6 separate regions of the Homo sapiens genome follow, and all the other regions are linked to region 1. Evidence: promoter capture Hi-C in 16 types of primary human blood cells and fetal thymus (Javierre and others, 2016). All regions are on one chromosome and are shown on one strand. The core of a region is centred on a gene start or on the middle of the fragment in contact, and the rest is flanking DNA. Distances in the headings are between cores, read along the strand shown.

What was found. The method cuts DNA at HindIII sites, captures the fragments that hold promoters and counts their contacts. A CHiCAGO score of 5 or more calls a contact.
Region 2: a fragment that was not itself captured here is called in contact with the fragment with the promoter of ZXDB in region 1 in 7 of 17 cell types (erythroblasts, total CD4 T cells, total B cells and 4 more); the score reaches 9.2 in erythroblasts.
Region 3: a contact is called between a fragment that was not itself captured here and the fragment with the promoter of ZXDB in region 1, in 4 of 17 cell types (M0 macrophages, total CD8 T cells, fetal thymus and 1 more). The highest score is 9.3, in M0 macrophages.
Region 4: a contact is called between a fragment that was not itself captured here and the fragment with the promoter of ZXDB in region 1, in 1 of 17 cell types (monocytes). The highest score is 5.2, in monocytes.
Region 5: a fragment that was not itself captured here is called in contact with the fragment with the promoter of ZXDB in region 1 in 9 of 17 cell types (monocytes, total B cells, total CD8 T cells and 6 more); the score reaches 12.1 in monocytes.
Region 6: a contact is called between a fragment that was not itself captured here and the fragment with the promoter of ZXDB in region 1, in 8 of 17 cell types (M0 macrophages, total CD4 T cells, activated CD4 T cells and 5 more). The highest score is 8.9, in M0 macrophages.

The regions. Positions count from the first base shown.
Region 1 is chrX:57,589,696-57,593,399 of GRCh38, reverse strand. ZXDB (zinc finger X-linked duplicated B) reads right to left here and starts at 1,389. Exons shown (of 1, transcript NM_007157.4): 1 at 1-1,389. The coding sequence starts at 1,351. RefSeq lists silencers at 512-701, 762-1,051. The HindIII fragment of the contact is 4,972 bases long and covers 1-2,539 here.
Region 2 is chrX:56,818,158-56,821,558 of GRCh38, reverse strand. It overlaps NBDY (negative regulator of P-body association), which reads right to left. Exons shown (of 3, transcript NM_001348129.2): 3 at 2,380-3,401. Among named protein-coding and RNA genes, the nearest start is that of NBDY, 91 kb to the right of the region's middle. RefSeq lists a silencer at 1,109-1,403. The HindIII fragment of the contact is 3,504 bases long and covers 1-3,289 here.
Region 3 is chrX:56,739,527-56,743,322 of GRCh38, reverse strand. The region is part of intron 2 of NBDY (negative regulator of P-body association); the gene reads right to left. Among named protein-coding and RNA genes, the nearest start is that of NBDY, 12 kb to the right of the region's middle. The HindIII fragment of the contact is 1,634 bases long and covers 1,501-3,134 here.
Region 4 is chrX:56,716,157-56,720,084 of GRCh38, reverse strand. No RefSeq gene overlaps it. Among named protein-coding and RNA genes, the nearest start is that of NBDY, 11 kb to the left of the region's middle. The HindIII fragment of the contact is 5,458 bases long and covers 1-3,928 here.
Region 5 is chrX:56,756,557-56,760,171 of GRCh38, reverse strand. The region is part of intron 2 of NBDY (negative regulator of P-body association); the gene reads right to left. Among named protein-coding and RNA genes, the nearest start is that of NBDY, 29 kb to the right of the region's middle. The HindIII fragment of the contact is 7,558 bases long and covers 1-3,615 here.
Region 6 is chrX:56,779,655-56,783,144 of GRCh38, reverse strand. All of the region lies in intron 2 of NBDY (negative regulator of P-body association), which reads right to left. Among named protein-coding and RNA genes, the nearest start is that of NBDY, 52 kb to the right of the region's middle. RefSeq lists enhancers at 436-575, 3,386-3,490. The HindIII fragment of the contact is 775 bases long and covers 1,078-1,852 here.

The DNA of each region.
Region 1 (3,704 bases), core at 140-2,639:
CGCCGGTGTGACTCCGCAGGTGAATTTTCAGCCTACAAGCCTTGTCATATTGTTTGCTGCAGCCAGGAAAAGAGCAGGAAAACAGTTCCTGTTCCCTGAAATGGGCGCGGTTATGGGAAAACAGAGCACTCACTGTGATAAATGTCTTCTTGCAGCCAGAAAACGCGCACTGGTAAGGCCTCTCCGGTTCGAAGTGGCTGCGCTGGTGGGCGCTGAGTTTGGCCTGCGTGGGGAAGCTCTCCTCGCACACCTCGCATTTGAATGAGTTCTCCTGCTCATGGCCCTTCATGTGCGCCTTGAGGTTGTACACTGTGGTGAAGCTCTTGCCACAGCCCTCTGCCGGGCAGCCAAAGGGCCGCAGTTTGTCGTGCGACTGCAGGTGCCTCTTGAGCTTGTAAGAGGTGGTGAAGGTCCAGCCGCAGCCACCCAGGGGGCATTTGAAGGGCCTCTGGCCCTGGCTGCTGCTGTGCGTCAGCAGGTGCACCTTCAGCTGGTGCTTCTTGGCGAAGGTTTGCCCGCACTGCGCCTCGGGGCACAAGTACAGCACCACGCCTGGGCCGGAGCCCAGCGGTCCGCGGGGGCCCAGGGCGGCGGCCGGGCCCTCCGCCTCCTCCTCAGGCGCCGGAGCTGGCGCGGGTTCGGCCGGCTCAGCTAGCAGGAGGTCTGGCGGCAGCTCTGGGCAGTCACCCGGGTGCGCGGCATGCGGGAACCCAGCTTGCGGGGCGATCAGACACCCGGGCTGCTGGGCAGGAGCGGCCCCTGGCTCCCAGGCGTGTGGTGGGGGCGTGGCCAGGGTGAGGACGCCGTTCTCAAAGCGCAACAGCAGGTCCTGGTTGTGGATAGTGACTGTGCCCGCGAAGGCCGCGGCGGGGCCGGGGGCGGAGATCGGGGCCGGAGTGGGAACCGCGGACAGGCAGCGGGGGCCTAGCGCAGTGGGCCCCGCGGGATTCGCGCCGCTCTCGCCCCCCTGGAGCCCCGGGCCCTCCTCGGCCTCCTCCCTCAACACAGGCCCTGCGGCCTGACCGGAGCCCGCGGTCTCCACGTCGCCACCCACCGGGTCAAGCAGCACCAGGAAGAAGTCGTCGCCGCCGCCGCCGCCGCCGCCGCTAGGTTGATCGGTCCTCGGCGCCAACAGGCTTGGGCCAGGGCCCCGTGATGCCGTGCTGGCCTCCTCGCGCCGCCGCCCGGGCCCGCCATCTTGGGGGCCCCGGAGCAGCAGGAGGCGGCGCGTGGGGACCTGGCCAGCCGGCGAGTCAGGGCCTCGGTGGACTCGGCCGCCACCCGCGGGGATACCGCCGCCGCCGCCGCCCTGTAGTGTCCCGCGAGCCGGGAGCAGCTTCGGGATTTCCATCTCTGCGTCCGAGAGGCTCGGCTGGAACCAGAGCCGAGGAGGAGGCGCGATCCCGCCCCCTGCCGCGGGCCTGAACACGTTCCTGAAAGGGGAAAAAAAAATGTGCAATGCGCAGAAACTGGCCCTATCAGATATTAAAACGTATTTAACGCCACAGTGATTTAAATATTCTGGTACTGGGTCTCTGGAACAGAATAGAAAGCCCAGAGGTAGAGCCTGGTATGCATAAATACGTTCTACAGTTAATATAAGTAAGTAATTAAGGGGGTCTTCTGAGGTAATGGGGAAATGACGACAGCTTGTTCAGTAATGCTGTGGAACACCTAGGTATCTATCCGCTGGAAGCAATTTTAATCCATGACTCATTGTATATACCCAAATAAACACACCCCAGCCCCTCCCAGTGTTAGATATGTTGCTTCGTACTTTCTGTGTGTTAAAATTTGCTGGCTGGCTGGCTGGCTGGACTGATGGATGAAAGACAATTCCTGAGAGAAAAAACTGTCTCTGTGTCAGCATTAAACCACCATAGCGCTGGCAGTTCTGCTGAAAATGTCCTTCCCCTTCCCACCTCCCCGCGGGACAACTTCCATATTCACAATTATCTTGAGCAAAGTCTTCGGTACAATTTGCCGCATAGTTCAAATTTTGTCTTGCTGATACAGACATTAGAATGAGTGAGAGATGCGGCCAAAACAGGTTAGCACTCTTCAGCCTAGAAATTCAAAGTCTGGAGGATGAAACAATTTACACTGAAATCTGGAAAAAACCCAACCTTCTCCTGGCTTCTCCCTATACAGTGCACAACCTAAACCAACTTTTGCCCTTCCACCATCGGTTGTACTGTGATAAATTTCATGTCTGCTCTCACAGCACAATGAGGGCATTCATTCCTCAGTTTACTCTGCCTTCTCCAGCACGTGGAGGTCTCTGGGCAGGAGTTTCAGTTAAATGTGTTTAGGTTAAATCCTGAGTCACTGCAATGGATTCTGCCAAGTAAAAGGCACAGACGATCTTGTCCAATCAACCTGGTGTACCTGTTCACATTTAAGTGTGGTGGCCCAGGCTTGCTGGGCCTGTGGTGCCTAATGATCTTATTAATGATGATGACAATCCTTCATTTTGTCCGTTACGACTGAGTTGGGAATTGACACAAATATAGGGTGAAATATCTGAGATAAGAAAGCTTAGAGTAATGACTAGATTGGTGGTGGTGGGGGAGCGGGGTGTAACCTGTTGTTTAAATACTCCCAGCTCTCTCGCCCTCTTTTAATGACAGTGGACACTTGGTCTCTTGAAAATCAAGCTATTCATCCATAACTATTTGAACCTCATCAAAATGTCTACTCCACATACTTTTCTTTCTATTACTTTTTCTGGTGGAAGCATTTTTCAAATCTGAGGTATAGAAGAGTGCATAAAACATATTTGTATCGTTTAGATTATTTTACAAAAGCAGACACCTGTGTAACCAGGACCAAGGTCAAGCAATAGACCACTGCCAGCCTTCCAGAATACAGCCGCTGTACTCCTCCCAATCACAACCCACACTCTCCTATATGAATATAGTCATTGCCCTGACTTTGTAATAATCATTTCACTGCTTTCCTTTATAGCTTTATCACTTTTGTACGCATCCGTAAACAATAGAGTTGATACGAAGTTGTATAAATGGAATCATACGGCAAGTTTCCTTTTATAACTTGTTTCTTTCACTCTGTATTATACTTGAGACTCATCCATGTTGTTCATAATAGTTATAAGTAAGTAGATCCTTTGTCTCCATCGACTGTCGTTCCAGCATATGCTTATAGCAAAGTGATTATGGTATGATTATACCACTCCATTCTACAGCAGATGAACATTAGGATTGCTTCTATTTTTCAGCGATTATTATGAACATTCTTGCACATTTCTCATGGGACACATGTGTAAAAATCTCTCTAGGGTATATATCCAAGAATAGAATCACAGGGCCATAGGGTATGGATATCCTGAGCTTTACTAGATGATGCCAAATTGTTCTCTGTAGTGATTGGGCAAGCTGTCAATCCCACCAGCAGCACAGAGAGCCCCTACTGCTCCACATCTTCACCCACACCAAGTATTGCCAGAATTTAAATTTTGCCAGTCTACTGGTGGGCAATACCCAAATTACTAGTAAGCTTTAGCACATTTTCGTGTTTATGAGCCTTTTGGAGTGTCTACTCCGAAGAAGGCCTATTCAAATTTACCTCTTTTAACCCATGTTTCTATTCTATTGTTCATCTAGTACTTACTGACTTAATGAGCCTGTTAAATATTTTAAATACTAGTCCATACCTGTGGCCAAAATATTCCCTTGTTCTGTTTG
Region 2 (3,401 bases), core at 288-2,787, 770 kb after region 1:
CCTCAGCCTCCCAAGTAGCTGGGATTACAAGTGCCTGCTGCCACATCCGGCTAATTTTTGTATTTTTAGTAGAAACAGGGTTTCATCATGTTGGCCAGGCTGGTCTCAAACTCCTGACCTCAAATGATCTGCCCTTTCTCCACTCTTAAATGCATCTTTCTTTATTTGCTACACCCAGGTGCTGTAATCTCTCACTTGGTTTCTTTAGGCCTTGTAAAGGTAATTTTGCGCATGAATAGTTGTTCAAATGGATACTTCTGCAAGGTTATGAGTGCTGAAGAATTCCATTTTGCCATCTTGCTGCATAGGAATTTAATAAGTTGGGAGAGGCTGGCCAGGCATGGTGGTTCACGCCTGTAATCCCGGCACTTTCGGAGGCCAAGGGGCGGGCGGATCACCTGAGGTCAGGAGTTCGAGACCAGCCTCAACATGGAGAAACCCTGTCTCTACCAAAAATACAAAATTAGCTGGGTGTGGTGGTGCATGCCTGTAATCCCAGCTACTCGGGAGGCTGAGGCAGGAGAATTCCTTGAACCTGGGAGGTGGAGGTTACAGTGAGCCAAGATTGCACTATTGCACTCCAGCCTGGGCAACAAGAGTGAAACTCCGTCTCAAAAAAATAAAATAAAAGTTGGGAGAGGCTGCCTTGGGAGGTGCTAGCCAGACATCTATTGTTTTAAACAACTTGAGATATGCACATATAATACAATCCGTGATTTAAAGTGTACAATTCAATGGTTTTGGATATTTATAGATAAGCATAGATATGTGTAAATATCACTACAGTCAATTCTTATGCATTTTCATTAACCCTGAATAAAATCACACAGTCCTTAGACATCAATTCTCAATCATAACTTAAGGGAAACTCCATCCTTAAGCAAATATTTTTTCTGAACCTATAGACTTGCCTCATGTGGACATTTTATTTATATGAAATTATATAATATATGGTACTGTGTGACTGGCTTTTTTCACATAGCATAATGCTTTTGCTTTTCCCAGACCACCAGGCAAGAATTATTTTCCTTTTTTTTTTTTTTGGCATAATGCTTTCAAGGTTTATTCTGGCAGTATGTATACTTATTTCCTGTATATGACTAAATTAATATTCCATTGTGTGAATATACATTTTGTTTTCCATTCACCAGTTGATGGGCATTTGAGTTGTTTCCACATTTTCCTAGTACAAATATTTCTGCTGTAAACCGTCCTGTACAATTTTTGTTTGAACACCTGTTTTTTAGTTATTTTGGCTATGTATCAGGAGTAAAATTGCTGGGTAGCATGTTATTTCTTTTTTTTTTCTTTTTTTTGAGATGGAGTCTTGCTCTGTCATGCCCAGGCTGGAGTGCAGTGGTGGGATCTCGGCTCACTGCAACCTCTGCCTCCCAGGTTCAAGGGATTCTCCTGCGTCAGCCTCCTGAGTAGCTGGGCTAATTTTTTATATTTTTTAGTAGAGATGGGGTTTCACCATGTTGGTCAGGCTAGTCTCGAATTCCTGACCTCAGGTGATCCATCCACCTCAGCCTCCCAAAGTGCTGGGATTACAGGTGTGAGCCACCACGCCCAGCCATTATTTTTAACTTAGAGAGGAACCACAAAATTGTTTGCCCAGTGGCTGCACATTTATCATTACCAGCAACAATGCCGCATGTTCCTGTTTTCCCACATTCTAACATTTATTATTTTGCTATTTAAAATAATAATAATAATAAGTATCCTACTGGGTATAAATTGCTGTCTCTTTGTGATTTTGATTTGCATTTCCCTGATGACTAATAGTGTTGAGCATCTTCTCATGTGTAATTTGTGATTTGTATGTCTTCTTTACAGAAGAATCTATTCAGATCCTTTCGTTATAAAATTGGTTTATTGTTTGTTTTATTATTTAGCGGTAATTACTGTTTATTTTATTTTATTATTTTGTTTTATTTTTTGAGATGGCGTCTTGCCCTGTTGCTTAGGCTGGAGTGTGCATTGGTGCAATTTTGGCTCACTGCAACCTCTGCCTCCCAGGTTCAAGCTATCCTCCCACCTCAGCCTCCTGAGTAGCTAAGATTACAGGCATACACCACCACACCCTGCTAATTTTTTTTGTGTGTGTATTTTTAGTAAAGATGGGGTTTCATCATGTTGGCCAGGCTGGTGTCAAACTCCTGACCTCAAGTGATCCCCCTGCCTCAGCCTCCCAAAGTGCTGGGATTACAGGATGAGCCACCATGCCTGGTCTTATATATTTTAGATACAAGTCATTTATGAGACATATTATTTGCAAAAATAATCTTGCACTGTGGCTGTCTTTCAAATTTCTTGACTGTGTTCACTGAAGCAAATTTTTTTTCAATTTTAATTATGTCCAGTTTATCTTTTTTTTCCTTTATTAACTTGTGCTTTGGTGTAAGAATTAAAAATCTAATACTTAATTCAAGGTCACAAAAATTTATTCTATATTTCCTCCCAAGAGTTTTATAGTGTAACCCTTATATTTGAGTCTTTGGCCTATTTTGAGTTAATTTTTGTATTTTGCATGAGGTAGGGGTGGAAGTTTTTTGTTTTTTTGTTTTTTTTTTGCATGTAGATACCAAGTTGTCCCAGTACCATTTATTGAAAATAGTTATTTCCCCTTTTGTCTTGCCTCCTTCTCAGAAGTTAATTGGCTGCAAATTAACTTTTGTGAGGGCTTATGTCTGGACTTTGGATTCTATTTCATTGATCAATATTTATATCCTATGCCAGTACCACATAGACTTGTTTATTGTAGCTTTGTAATAAGTTTTAAAATTTGGAAATGTGACTCTTCAAACTTTGTATACTTCAAGATTGTTTTGGCTATTCTGGGTCCATTACATTTTCATATGAACTTTAGAATCAGGTTATAAATTTCTTCAAAGTAGGCAACCTTAATTTTGATAAGGGTTGCATTGAATAGTTTGATTATTTTGAAGAGTGTTGTCATCTTTATAATACTGTGCCTTCTGATGCATAAAATGCCTTTCACCAGATGTCCTTTTAAAGAAGTCTGTGTTTACTGTTTGTGATGTTCAGCCTGGCTCAGAAGTTTTAAAACTCTAATGTGTGATTAGTAATATTATACAATCTTTAAAATAACTGTCTATAATTTATTAAGTGTGCATAACATAACTCTAGAATATACATAAATGTCACCATACCTCCATTTGTGATTTTTCAGATTCTTTAATTCTGATGCTAGGGACTAATTTCAGAGGATTGGGTAAAATACTCAGGTTTCACAATCTCTCTAAATATTCATTTTACAATGTAAGCTTTAATTACTTATTTGAACAAATTGTATTATTATTTTATATTTTAATTTATAAGCCAAGTTTATCTGACATTTTCAGATATAATATATGCTTTCAAGTCTGTTTATCTTTTAT
Region 3 (3,796 bases), core at 1,068-3,567, 850 kb after region 1:
CTTCCAAACTAATTCCATGAGGCCTGATACCAAAATCAGACAGAAACAAATTAAAAAAAAACAGGCCAATATCTCTGATAAATATTGATGCAAACATCTTCAACACACTACTAGCAAATCAAATTCAACAATACATTAAAAAGATTATTCATCATGACCAAGTGGGATTTATCCCTGGGATGGAAGGATGGTTCAACAGTGGTGATACATAGTATCAACACAATGGAGGACAAAAACCATATGGTCATTTCACTTGATGCTGAAAAAGCATTGGATAAAGTTCAACATGCCGTCATGATAAAAACCTTCAAAAATGGGTATAGAAGGAACATACCTCAACATAATAAAACCCATATATAACAGACCCACAGCTAGTATCATACCAAATAGGGAAAAACTGAAAGCTTTTCCTCTAAGATCTGAAACATGACAAGGACGCCCATTGTCACCACTGTTATTCAACATAGTACTGCAAGTCCTAGTTAGAGCAATCAGACAAGAGAAAGAAATTAAGGGCATCCAAATTGGAAAGGAAGAAGTCAAATTACCGTTGTTTGCAGAGGATTTGATCTTGTGTTTGGAAAAGCATAAAGATTCCACAAAAACTATAAGAACTGATAAATTCAGTAAAGTTGCAGGATACAAAATCAACATACGAAAATCAGTAGCATTTCCACATGCCAACATTGGGCAATCTGAAAAAGAAATTTAAAAGTAATTCCACTTACAATGGCCAAACATAAAATTAAATACCTAGCAATTAACTCAACCAAAGAAGTGGGAGATCTCTTTAATAAAAACTGTAGAACACTGATGAAAGAAATTGAAGAGGACACCAAAAAATGGAAAGATAGTCCATGTTCATGAATTGAAAGAATCAATATTGTTAAAACGTCCATGCCACAAAAAGCAATCTACAGGTTCAATGCAATACTTATAAAAATACAAAAAACATTCTTCACAGAAATAGAAAAAACAATCCTAAAATTTATATGGAGCCACAAAAGACCCAGAATAACCAAAGCTATCCTAAGCAAAAAGAACAAAACTGGAGGAATCATATTACCTGACTTCAAATTATACTACAGAACTACAGTAATCAAAACAGCATGGTATTGTCACAAAAACAGACACATAGACCAATGAAAGATAACTGAGAACCCAGAAACAAATCCACACACCTAACAAACTCATTTTCCACAAAGGTGCCAAGAACATACACTATGGAAAAGACAGTCTCTTCAATAATTGGTGCTGGGAAAACTGGATATCCATATGCAGAAGAATGAAACTAGATAGCTATCTTTTGCCATACACAAAAATCAAATCAAAATGTATTAAAGACTTAAGTCAAAGACCTCAAACTATGAAACTACAACAAGAAAATATGGGAAAAATCTCCAGGACATTGATCTGGGCAAAAATTTCTTAATTAATACCCCACAAGCAAAGGCAATCAAAGCAAATATGAACAAATGGGATCACATCAAGTAAAAAGCTTCTGCACAGCAAAGCAAACAGTCTATAAAGTATAGGTGCAATGGGAGAAAATATTTGCAAACTACACTTTTGACAAGAAATTAATAACCAAAATATATAAGGAGCTCAAACAACTCAATAGGAAAAAATCTAATAATTTGATCAAAATTGTGACAAAGATTTGAATAGACCTTTCTCAAAAGAAGATATACAAATGGCAAACAGGCATGTGAAAAAGTACTCATTGTAGTTGATCATCAGGGAAATGCAAATCAAAACTACAATGGGATATTATCTCACTTCAATTAAAATGGCTTATATCCAAGTGACAGGCAATAACAAATGCTGGCAAGAATGCGGAGAAGAGGGAATGCTTGTACACTGTTGATGGGAATGTAAATTAGTACAACCACAATGGAGAACGATTTGAAGATTCCTCAAAAAACTAAAAATTGAGCTACCATATGACCCAGCAATCCCACTGCTGGGTATATACCCCAAACAAAGGAAATCAGTATTATCAAAGAGATATCTGCACTCCCATGTTTGTTGCAGCACTGCTTACAACAGCTAAGATTTAGAAGCAACCTAAGGGTTCATCAACAGATACATGAACGAAGAAAATGTGGTATATATACATAGTGGAGTACTAATCAGTCATAAAAAAGAATGAGATCTAGTTATTTACAACAGCATGGATGGAACTGGATATCATTATGTTAAGTGAAATGGGCCAGGCACAGAAAGACAAACATCACATGTTCTCACTTATTTGTGGAATCTAAAAATCAAAACAATTGAACTCATGGAGATGGAGAGTAGAAAGATGGTTACCAGAGGCTGGGAAGGGTAATGGGTGGTGGGGGAGAGTGGGGATGGTTAACGGGTATACAAAAAGAATGAATAAGACCTATTATTTGATAGGACAGCAGGGTGACTATAGTCAATAATAATATAACTGTATAATTAAATTGTCTGTAACACAAAGGATAAATGCTTGAAATGATGGATACCCCATTGTACATGATGTGATTATTACACTTTGCATGTATCAAAACATCTCATATACCCCATAAATGTATACAACTACTAGGTACCCAGAAAGATTTTACAAAATTAAAAAGACCCAGCAAACAAAAAAAATTTACATTCAAAAAGATAAAAAGAGTTCCTAAAATTGTAAAATATGTATCTATTCTAGACTTGTATGTACATACTAACAATGCCTCAAGTATACAAAGCAAAAATTGTCAAAAGTGTAAGAATTTGACAAATACACAAATACAGTGGGAGATTTTAACTCTCTTGGTAACTGATAGGTCCAGCAAACAAAAAACTTAGGAATAGAGAAGATTTAAACAACACAGTTAAATTTAATGAACAGAACACTACACGCAAAAATTAGATACACAATCTTTCCAGGCACACATAAAACACTAGTTGATCATGTTCTCTAGGACATAAAGCAAGTTTCAACAAACACTAAATAATCATTATCACATAAGCAATATTGTCTTTTAAATGGAAAACAATGACAAAATGTTAAGCTAAAAAACAGCTATATACAATGACTTAGTTTCTAAATACTGTCTCCATAAAAGATAACAGAGGTCTATAGAGAAATGATTAATGGGGTAGGAAGTACAAGACAAGCTTGAAAGTAAGGAAGTAAAAAAATTTTAAAGTAAGTAAAAAGTGTGTTTAAGAATGATGACACATGTCAAAAGACAGGGGAGCCAACTTGAATGGGCAGCCAGTCACTAAATCTGAGACAATTTGGGTATTAAAATAAATAATAACAATAGGGTATTTTTAAAATAAAGTAAAAATCTATGTGTCCAAAGTAATTAATAAACAAATAAATGGAGAAAAAGCTCTACCTTGATGTAGAATATAAACTAATAAATGTACTAAAAATGATGGAGTTTGAAAATTACCATTTTGCATTCATCATAGCAATATCTGATTCAGTCAAGAATTATCAATGGATTTGAAAACCAGTGGATGATAATTTAATGAGGAACAGGATATTTACATAGTCTCAAAGTATCCCCAGCAAAATCATTAATTATAAAGAGGAAAATGATAACTGTAAAGTGGATTAATCTAGCAACTATTCACCACATTAACCAAGTAATCAAAGTTAACTTTACTACTAAAGGGTCAAACCAGCATCATGTACCACCATTATGATGCCCTGAGAACAATACATTACTTCTGTGGTGCTTTTGCTAATATGCGTACTCTGAATAATGGGGAAATGGCACACAAATTTAAATTAAAGGACAATCTATGAAATAAGTGTCCTGTATTTACC
Region 4 (3,928 bases), core at 750-3,249, 870 kb after region 1:
CATTTCTTCTTGCATCCATTGCTGGTGAGCTAGTGTGATTCTTGGGGGGTTGCTAAAGAACTTGTTTTATCTTACCAGAATTATTCTTCTGGTTCCTTGTCATTTGGGTAGGCTATGTCTGAAGGAAGATCTGAGATTTGAGGCTGGTTTTCAGATTCTTTTGTCCTCTGGGGTGCTCCCTTGATGTAATACTCTCCCCTTTTTCCTAGGGATATATCTTTTTGAGAGCTGAACTGTATTAATTTTTATTTATTTTCTGGATCTAGCCACCCAGCAGGGCTACCATGCTCTGGGCTGGTACTGGGGGGTGTCTGCAGAGTCCTGTGATATGAACCATCTTCAGTTCTCTTAGCTGTGGATACCTGCACCTTCTCCAGTGGAGGTGGCAAGAGAGTAAACTGGACTCTGTGAGGCTCCTTAGTTGTAGTTGTTTAATGCACTAGTTTTGTACTGGTTGGCCTCCTGCCAGGAGGTGGTGCTTTCAAGAGAGGATCAGCTGTGGTAGTATAAGGGAGGATCAGGTGGTGGGCAAGGCCTTAGAACTCCCACGAGATTATGACCTTTGTCTTCAGCTACCAGCATTGGTAGGGAAGGACCATCAGGTGGAGCCACGGTTAGGCCTGTCTGAGCTCAGATTCTCCTTGGGCAGAGCTTGATTTGACTGCTGTGGGGAGTAAGGTTGTGGTTCCCAGGTCAATGGAGCTATGTTCCCAGAATTATGGCTGCCTCTGTTGTGTCATGCAGGTTGTCCAGGAAGTGGAGGAAAGCTGGCAGTTACAGGCGTCACCTAGGATCCACACAACCCAAAAGGCTGGTGTCACTCCCACCGTTCCCCCCACCCTCCACAGCACTGAGTTTGTTTCTAGGCAGTGGGCAAGGAAGGCTGAAAACTTGTTTCATTCAGCCGGGCTTTTGTGCTTCCTCATCTGTCAAGTCTGCACAACCGATTCATGCCCTCTTCTAAGTTCTGGCCAGGAAACTGAATTTGGTTGGAATTGTCATAAAGTCTAGCTGGAGATTTTCTTCTTTCTGTGTTTTTTTTTCCCAGTTTCTCTGGCAGTGCTCCCCAAGGACCCCTGTGAGACAAGTTAGAAATGGCTTCTCTGGGTACCCAGAGAGCCCACAGGGCTTTTCCTGCTGCCTCCTCTAACCTTGTATTTTGCTCAGCTCTTCAGATTGTCTCAGCTCCAGGTAAGGTCAAATCCTTCTTCTGTTATCTGAACCTTCAGGTTCCCCAGTGAGGGTGTGTATTCAAGGGCAAACAATTCCCGTTTCCCACTCTCACAGTTTGGGCACTCAGAGTACTTGGGCTGTCTTCTGAGTATTGCAGAAGCAGTCTGCTTCTTTCAAAGGGTCTGTTAATTCTCACAGCTTTCCTGGTATTCCCACAGTAGTTCTTGGAGCAAAAGTTTACAATGTGAGTCTCCACATGCTGCTCTGTCCATCTAACTGGGAGCTGCAATTTAGTCCGCCCTTCTGTCTGCCATTTTTATAAATCTTTTGTTGAGCTTTTTAAAATATGTTTGCTGGCCACATGCATGTCTTCTTTTGAATGGTGTTTGTTCCTGTCCTTTGCCCACTTTTTAATGGGATTGTTTTTTTCCTTGTAAATTTGTTTAAGTTCTTTAGAGATACTTGATAGAAGACATTTGCCAGAAGCACGGATTGCAAAAATGTTCACTCATTCTGTAGGTCATCTGTTTGCTGATAGCTTCTTTTGCTGTGCAGAATCTCTCTAGTTTAATTACATCCCATTTGTCAATTTTTGTTTTATTGCAATTGCTTTTGTCATGTTCGTTATGAAATCTTTGCCCATTTCTATTTCCAGAATGGCATTGCTTAGGTTGTTGCATTAGTCTGTCCTCATGCTGCTGATAAAGACATACCCCAGACTGAGTAATTTATAAATAAAAAGAGGCTTAATAGACTCACAGTTTAACGTGGCTCAGGAGGCCTCACAATCATGGTGGAAGGTGAAAAGCAAGTCTTACATGGTGGCAGGCAAGAGATAAATGAAAACAAGTGAAAGGGGTTTCCCCTTATAAAACCATCAGATCTTGTGAGGCCTATTCACTACCACCAGAACAGTATAGGGGAAACTGCCCCCATGACTCAATTATCTCCCACTGGGTTCTTCCCACAACACGTGAGAATTATGGGAGCTACAATTTAAGATGAGATTTGGGCTGGGACACAGCCAAACTATATCAGTTGTTTTCCAGGTTTTTTATAGTTTTAGGTTTTACATTTAAGTCATTAATCCATCTGGAGTTAATTTTTGTATATGGTACTAGGAAGGGCTCCAGTTTTCATCTTCTGCATATGGCTAGCCAGTTATCCCAGCACCATTTATTGAATAGGGAATCATTTCCCAATTGCTTGTTTTTGTCAGGTTTGTCAAAGATCAGATAGTTGTAGGTGTACAGTCTTATTTCTAGGTTTTTTATTCTGTTCCATTGGTGTATATGTCTGTTTTTGTACTAGTACCATGCTTTTTTGGTTACTGTAGCCCTGTAGAATAGTTTGAAGTCAGGTAATGAGATGCCTACAGCTTTTTTCCCCTAGTTTTGTGAAGAAAAGTCAATGGTAGTTTAATAGGAATAGCATTGAATCTATAAATTGCTTTGGACAGTATGGCCATTTTAATGATATTAATTATTCCTATTCATGAGCATGGAATGTTTCTCCATCTGTTTGTGTCATCCTTTATTTCTTTCAGCAGTCTTTTGTAGTTCCTCTTGTAGAGATCTTTCACTTCCCTGGATTGCTGTGTTTTTAGATATTATATTCTTTTTGTGGCAATTGTGAATGGGACTGCATTCCTGATTTGGTTCTCAGACTGATTGTTGTTGAGGTATAGAAATGGTAGTAACTTGTGTACATGCATTTTGTATCCTGAGACTTTGCTGAAGTTCTTTATCAGCTGAAGAAACTTTTGGGTCAAGGCTATGAGATTTTCTACATATAGAATCATGTCATTTGGAAACAGGCATAATTTGACTTTCTCTATTTCTATTTGGATGCCCTTTATTTTATAATCTTGCCTGATTGCCCCGGCCAGGGTTTTCAAACTTGTGTTCAATAGGATTGAGAGAGGATATTCTTGTCTTGTGCCACTTTTCAAGGAGAATGCTTCCAGCTTTTGCTCATTTGGTATAATTTTGGCTGTGGGTTTGTAATATAAGGTTCTTATTTTTGAGGTACGTTTCTTTAATACCTAGCTTATTGAGGGTTTTTTTTTTAACAAGAAGGGGTGTTGAATTTCATTAAAATACTTTTCTGCATCTATTGAGATAATCATGTGGTTTTTGAATTTAGTTCTGTTTATGTGATGAAATATATTTATTGATTTGCGTATGTTGATATGTTGACCTAACCTTCCATCCCAGGGATAAAGTTTACTATATCATGGTGGATAATCTTTTTGATGTGCTGCTGGATTTGGTTTGTGAATACTTTATTGAGGATTTTTGCATTGAGGTTCATCAAGGATATTGGCCTAAAGCGTTTGTTTGTTTGTTTGTTTGTTTTTTTGTTTTGGTGTCTGTGTGTGTCTGCCATGTTTTGGTATCAGAATAATGGTGGCCTCATAGAATGAGTTAGGGAGGAGTCCCTCCTCAATTTTTCAAAACCGTTTCAGCAGAAATGATACCAGCTCTTCTTTGTGCATCTGGTAAAATTCAGCTGTGAATTCATGTGTTTCTGAGCTGTTTTTGGTTGGTAAACTATTTATCACTAATTTAATTTTAGAGCTTGTTATTGTTCTGTTCAGGGATTCTATTTCTTCTTGGTTCAGTCTTGGGAGGGTGTATGTGTTCAGGAACTTATTTTTTTCTATGTTTCAGTTTATGTGCATAGAGGTGTTCATAGTATTCTCTGATGGTTGTTTTTATTGCGGTGCAGTCAATGTTTATATTTTCTTATTTAT
Region 5 (3,615 bases), core at 660-3,159, 830 kb after region 1:
CCCACCGGGGTTCAAAGCCCTTGAAGGAAGTGTACCTGCCATTGGGACCTCATGGAGAAGCAGCAACTCTAGAGGCCCTGGGACAGAACAACCCGGCAGCCTCAAGACCAGTCTACCCAGTGGGCAGAGACACCCTGTCTTGTGATGGGCATAAGGGAAGCCACTGGGCACTGATGGTCGAGACTGGGGCTGTTTACTCTGGTCTCCTTTGTGGGGAGTTCCAAGGTGCCATTGGCTGGGTCCAAGCTGGGGCCAAGGGGTTCTTATTCTCCCTGGGAACAAAGGAACTTCGGGGTGCTGGGGGCGGGGCGATTCATGCTTGGAAGTCCCTGGAGACTGCCAGGGGAGCCCATGGTGGGGTGCCCCTGCCTGCCCTTTCTTTCAGAGAGAGCTGTGGAGCCAAGGCGCCATCCTGGGAATAAGCACAGGCCAAGGGCCAGTCAGGAGTTCCTCTCTCCTCCTGCTTCAGCCTGTGGACGGCTTGTCGCCATCTGTTTAGCACTCCTGGGCTTTCCCCAGCACTGGTGCTCAGCTGTATCCCAGTGCCAGAAACTGTTTCTGCTTGATGGCAGTAGGGCTCCACAAACACTAACTATAACTGTAACCCTGCTCCTCCACCCCGAGGTCCTCCGCCTTTTCCCATGTGAAAAAAAAAAATAGGAAGGAGAAAGAGAAAAAGTGGGGAGAAAAAGAAAACAGCCACTAGGTCCCAGGTTGACCACCAAACTCAGGGGTCCCAATGACCAAGGCCTGGTAGGCTGGAGACCCTGTGGGAATCCTGTTTCGGCATCCAGCCTTTGCCCTTCCTTTGGCCCTCTCCAGGTTTTGTGGCTGCTTCTAGTGCAGAAAGTAATGACAAAGGACACATAATCATGGCCACTGGGACACCACAGGTGGACTGGGATCATAGGGCTGCCATTCCAGGAGAAAGTGGGAGCCACCCAGCTGGCTTACACAAGGATTTACCCAAGGACTGGGGGCCTATGTAAACCTGGAGCTCCTGGTTGAGATTACCACATTGTCCTGGCACATGCAGGTCACCAGAATGGGCTGATGGCTCAATAGGCAGCCACAGGGCCTGAGGCAGGAGTATCCCTCAGTGGAGACACAGAAAACCTTTTCAATATTCTGAGAGCATTGTGTTCCATGCTGCTCTCCAGGTACCAAGCGGTATGGGTAGGACATGCAACCTTTAGAGCAACGGGGTCATGGCTTTGCACCCAACATGGGCTCTGTATGAAGGCCCTGCACCAGGCTTTTGCATGTCTGCCTGGAGACCCTAAAGGGGCAAAATAATTTGTCCTCCACCGTCTCATTCATTATCTGAGCTGAGTATCTGGCAAGCACCAGAGTTTAGCTTGAGGAGCCCAGAGAGCTCTGTATCAAATCAAGGCACAGCTGCCCCACCACCCTCAAAGACACTCTAGCCTCAACCTCCACTTCCACACCCACCACAGGAACACAGAGGGGCCCAGGAGAAACTGAGCACTGCCGGGGGCCTGGCTACCCATGCACTTCAGCAGAATGACCAAGATGCCGGGGGTACTAACTAGTGAGCCATCACGTTCCAGGGAGCCTGCATGCTCCATCATCAAATATGCCAAGTGGGTCTCTCTAGGAGAGCCACCTGTGGAACCCATCCGGAATATCCCACCCATTCCTGGGCACATATGAGTGCCTGGGTTCCAGTCAGAGAGGTAGCCAAATGCCTCAGACAATAGTCTGTCTCGTCCTGTCCTGCCCCATCCCGACAGATGCCTTTCTCGACCCTGTTCTGCTGGATGGGTCAACAATGTGCAGATGCCTGTTGGACCTGGCTGCCTTTCTTTTTTTCTTTCTTTTTTTTTTTTTTTTTCGAGACAGAGTCTCACTCTGTCACACAGGCTGGAGTGCAGTGGCACAATCTCGGCTCCCTGAAACCTCTGTCTCCTGAGTTCAAGCAATTCTCTTGCCTTAGCCTCCCAAAGTAGCTGAGATTACATGCTAATTTTTGTAATTTTAGTAGAGATAGGGTTTCACCATATTTGCCAGGCTGGTCTCAAATTCCTGGCCTCAAGCAATCTGCCCACCTTGGCCTCCCAAAGTGCTGAGATTACAGGTGTGGGCCACCATGCCTAGCGGACCTGGCTGCTTTTAATCCAAACTTTGATCTCTTTCCCAGGAGGGAGTGTGCTGCCTAGGGACAAGTGTGGTGCACACAAGCAAGTGGCTTGTTTTCCTGTTTATGAGACCTGAGCAGGTTCATAGAGGATTCTGTAGCCACCCTCCTCCAATACCCACACACACCTCCCCTGTTTCCCGGAAATACAAGCTCCCCTCACCATACTACAGCCCCAGTGGTTGTATTTTTTGAAGACAAGCATTCCTTCCTTCCTTCCTACAAGCTCCCCCCACCATGCTACAGCCCCAATGGTTGGATTTTTTGAAGACAAACCTTCCCTTCCCCGCTCCCTTTCTCCTCCCCTCCCCTCCCGTTCCCTTCTCTTTCCCTTCTCTTCTCTTCTTTTTCCCTTTCCGAGAGAATAATCTAGAAGGAATGATGGAAGCAGAGAATCCTCCTACTTTTGCAGGTTTCCCCAATGTGGTCAAGTGGGGGGAGCCCTGCTGAAGTGAGAAGGGTGTACCTTAGTTGGTTCCTCATTTTGTTTTTTAGGTTTTCTTTTGTTTTTCGGATGTCAAGTGCTCACTGCAAAGGGCCACTGAATTGATGGTGCACGAAGCGAAGGAAGGGATGCCCAGAATTAGTGTGTTTAGTGGTTACAATTTTTGTTGTTTATGAAACCACAATGAATAGTTATATATAGTTGCTGTGAAATCAATGCTGCCTTCTTATTTAATCAACGTGCATTTTAAAATTATTCCAATTAACCCTGAGTTCATTTGTCATCCTATTCCTCTGCAGAGTACAAGATGCACTTCTACAAACCTTCAGAAAAATCTAATATAAGGAAATATATTAATGTATTATGAAATAGAACATGTCTCTTGTGGACACTGAATTCTCACAATTAGAATTTTCAATTAACACCTTCCTAAAGTTCTTTAGCAATATATTCTAATTCTGATCATATTTGAGAATTATACTTATCAAAAGCCAGTCAATATTATTTATCGTTGTTATTACAGTTTAATCAGTACTGTTGTGTTAAATAATTTACATTATGTAAATACTAAAATGTGTCTAGGGTCATTTTCTTTTCTTTTCTTTTCTTTTTTTCAGGGAGAGTCTCACTTTGTCACCCATGGTGGAGTGGAGTGGCGCAATCTCGGCTCACTACAACCCCCGCCTCCTGGTTCAAGTGATTCTCATGCCTCAGCCTCCAGATTCACTGGGATTATAGGCATGCACCACCAAGTCCGCTAATTTTTTGTAGAGACAGGGTTTCACCATGTTGGACAGCCTAGTCTCAAACTCCTGACCTCAAGTGATCCGCCCAGCTTGCCCTCCCAAAACATTGAGATTACAGGAGTGAGCAACTGTGCCTGGCCATTTTAGTTTTCCTATATTTATTTACTAAATCTTGCACATTATTTTTCCTATTCGTCTGTTGCCTTCCTTAATGCACTTCGCTAATATGTTATTCTTTTTATTCATTGACAGAGGCAATGTTTTTA
Region 6 (3,490 bases), core at 216-2,715, 810 kb after region 1:
GTTTGAGGGCCACACGCCACCATTTACAGCCCCATTTACAGCCCGAGTGGAAGACATTGTGGGCAGTTTCGTGCCTGAGGTGTTGTGTGTGTCTGTGTACGATAATGCTTAAACCCGCACATTTGTACTAGTGTGAGCTTACTTCTGTGTGTGTGTGTGTGTCTGTGTGTATCTGTGTGTGTGTCCGCTTAGGCGTGTTTAATGTGTGTGTTTGTGTCTGTGTGTGCATGAGTCTCCATGTGCGTGTGTGTTTGTGATTTAATTTCTGATTGGGGGGTCCCTTGTGAGTGTATGTATTGTGTCTGTGTCTGTGGTCTGTGGGTGCCTGCCTCTGTGAGTGAGAGTGGGCAAATGGGCATGTGGCGGAGACACCCTGCAAAAACTGAAATCCGGATCAATGTGTTCACATGGCTGGACTGAAAAAAAAGGAGACACGGGACAACTTGCCAAACTTCCTAATGGCTCAGGATTACACACCTAGTGCATCCACGAACAGAACAGGAAATAACAGCAAGCCATGAGGAACTGGGTAAAGGATCTGTTCACCATGACATTTCACTTAAAAGCAACATGTGGGAAGGTTTTTGGTATACCAGAGAGACTAAACTGGTGACCTTCATCAGTGCTAAATTAAGAACAAAAGTGAAGCTTTCTCTAGGCCTAGTACTGCAGAGAGACATGCTGAATCACCAAGGAGCAAAAGAAGAAGCAGTCTCCTAGAACACTTGTCTGTCCTGATCTGAAAGTGAAGGGAAAAAGAGAAGCAGAGGCAAAAGCAAAAGACAAAAAAGAAGAAGAGGCAAAAGAAGAGGAGAAGGAAAGAAGAAGGAGGAGGAGGAGGAGAAGATGGAGGAGGAAGAGTAAGAAAACAAAAAAGAGAAGAGGAATTAAAAGAGTAGGAGGAGGAAGAGGAAGAATAACCAGAAAGAGAACAAGAACAGAAAGTGGGAGGTCCATGCCACTGTAGCTGTCCTGAAGGATCTAGTTAAGGAAGACCTCAGTGTGTGGTGACATACACAATGAGTGACAAGGAGCCCCAGGTCACCTCCCGTTTAAAGGACATACAAACGAGAAGCTTCTTGTCGATGGGATCTTTCCTGAGTGGGATCAAAACTTTGATCCACAAATTGGCCTGCAGAACTACAGAGTACACAAGTGTAGGCTGAACCTTACCCTGAGGATGTCATCAGCTGACTGCAAGGGGCCACCAAGCCCAAAGTCTACAAAACCAAGGCAGTGAAGAACCACCCAAAAGAAAAAGATGAAAAACGGGGAGGAATCGGACACCAGGGAAAAGAGGTAATCAGCCACCCATGGCAATATGGAGACACGGCAGAAAGAATAAGGAAATGCCAACTTCTCCTCGCAGGGTTCAGCTGGAGTCCTTCTAATTTCCTTAGAAACAGTAAGCCTGTTTTCCTTAACCATGTCCCCGTGCATAACTGACCCTGCCTTCTTGGCTGATTGTGACCTCCATAAACAGAAGCGGACGAAAAGTAAAGACAGTGAAGAAGAAAAAAGTGAAGGGAGGAAAACTCCAAAAGTACACAAAGAATCAGAGTGAGCAATGAGTTACAGAGTAAACTGGAAAGCAGAGTTCATCATATGGAAAGCTGACAGCCCTGTGAGTAGCCTCCTGTGTCCTCACACAGGATAAGGCGCCAGCCAGAAGAAAGCATAAGCCCCTAAATCCCGGGTCTGTACCGCGTCTGCACAAAGATCTGTTGGGCCAGGAGACTGCCCTGTTCCCTGCTGCCCACACCTCAACCCCATCCCGCACACTCCATCAGCAAATATTGGGAAGGCAGAGAGAAAGCAATAAGAAAAATGAACAGGAGGGAACGTGAAAGCTTAACAACTACCTCCTGAGGGTTGCTTAGATGACGGGAAACAGTTGTGAATGAAGGTGTCTAGGCAGAAGCTTGTCATTACTGGAGAAGATACTTGTATGTGCCTGAGGACCTATGCAACCACAGATGAAGACAGGATATAGTTCAGACGTGATTGATGTTCAAAGGTAAAAACAAGAACCTCTGACACTAAAACTAACAACACCAAAGTTCCTGCGTTCCTTACTTCACCCGATGTCCCAAGGCACAAAAGGAGGGGCCCCGAGGTGGATGGTATACACTTATGAGAAAAGGACACACATTTGTTGACAAGGAAACAGTTGAGATGTGATGGGAGTTAAAAGTTAAAACCGAGGACCTCTGACACTCACAGTCCCAGTGCCAACCCTAAAGACGCAGTCCAGATCTTCCTGCATTCTTTTCTTCTCGCGTTCTCCCTAGGCACCGCCAGAGGCGCACCCTGGTGCATGCTACCTACATATGAGGAAAAAAAAAAAAAAAAAAAAAAAAAATCCGCATTTGTTGACAAGTGACAGAAAGGGGGTGACTCCTGTTCCATGGTCATGTGGTTCTTCTGCCCGGAATGCCGTGAGAGTGCAGGCCCGCTCACGAGATTGACATTCCTCCTTGTGAGAGTGGTTCACACACCCCCAGCGTGGGAATCATCACCCGTGGGGTGAATTTTCTGCCCTAAGAAGGGCTGCTCGTCCCCAGGGTGGCCTACACATCCAGGAAGATTTGTAACAAGCCAAGACAGAAAACATTTGCAATATTCGGGGAGCGTTGTGTTCCATGCTGCTGTCCAGGCACCCAGCGGCATGAGTAGCCTATGCAACCTTTAGAGCAAGGCGGTCGCGGCTTCGCATCCCAACATGGGCACTGTATGATGTCCCGCATCAGGCTTTCTTATGTCTGCCTGGAGACCCTAATTATGGGCGGCATAATTTGTCCTTGACGGTCTCATGCATTTTCTGGGCTGAATATCCGGCAAGCACCAGGGTTTAGCTCGAGAGCCCAGTGAGCCCTCTACCAAACCAAAACACAGCCCCCCGCCCGAGCCCCTTCTCCCCCAAAATACTCAAGGCTCAACCTCCACCTCCACACGCAGCACAGGAAATCAGACGGGGTCCAGGCGAAGTGGGGCAGGCTGGGCCCTGGCTACCCATGCACTTGGGTACAAGGACCAAGATGCCTGGCAACTAAGTGGTGAACCACCACGTTCCACTGAGCACGCGTGCTCCGTCAGACATGCCAAGAGGCTCTCTCTCCAGGAGAGCCACCTGTGAAACCCACCCGGCATGCTCCTCCCACCACTGTGCACAGACGAGTGCCTGGGCTCCAGAGAGGGAGGGAGCTGAAGGCCTCAGACAGGAGTCCGTCCCGTCCAGTCCCATCATCCCAAGAAACATCCGGCCCGACTCCCTGCAGCTCCATGGCTCAACAAGGTGCGGATGCCTGCTGGACCTGGCTGCTTTCCATCCAACTTTGATCCCTTCCCCAAGAGGAAGAGTGCTACCTAGGGACAAGTGTGGTGCGCACAGGCATGCAGCCTGGTCTCTTGCTCAGGCGGCCTGCGCAGATTCCTAGAGGAATCTGCAGCGGCCCGCATGCAGACCCACACACCCACATATCCCTCCCCC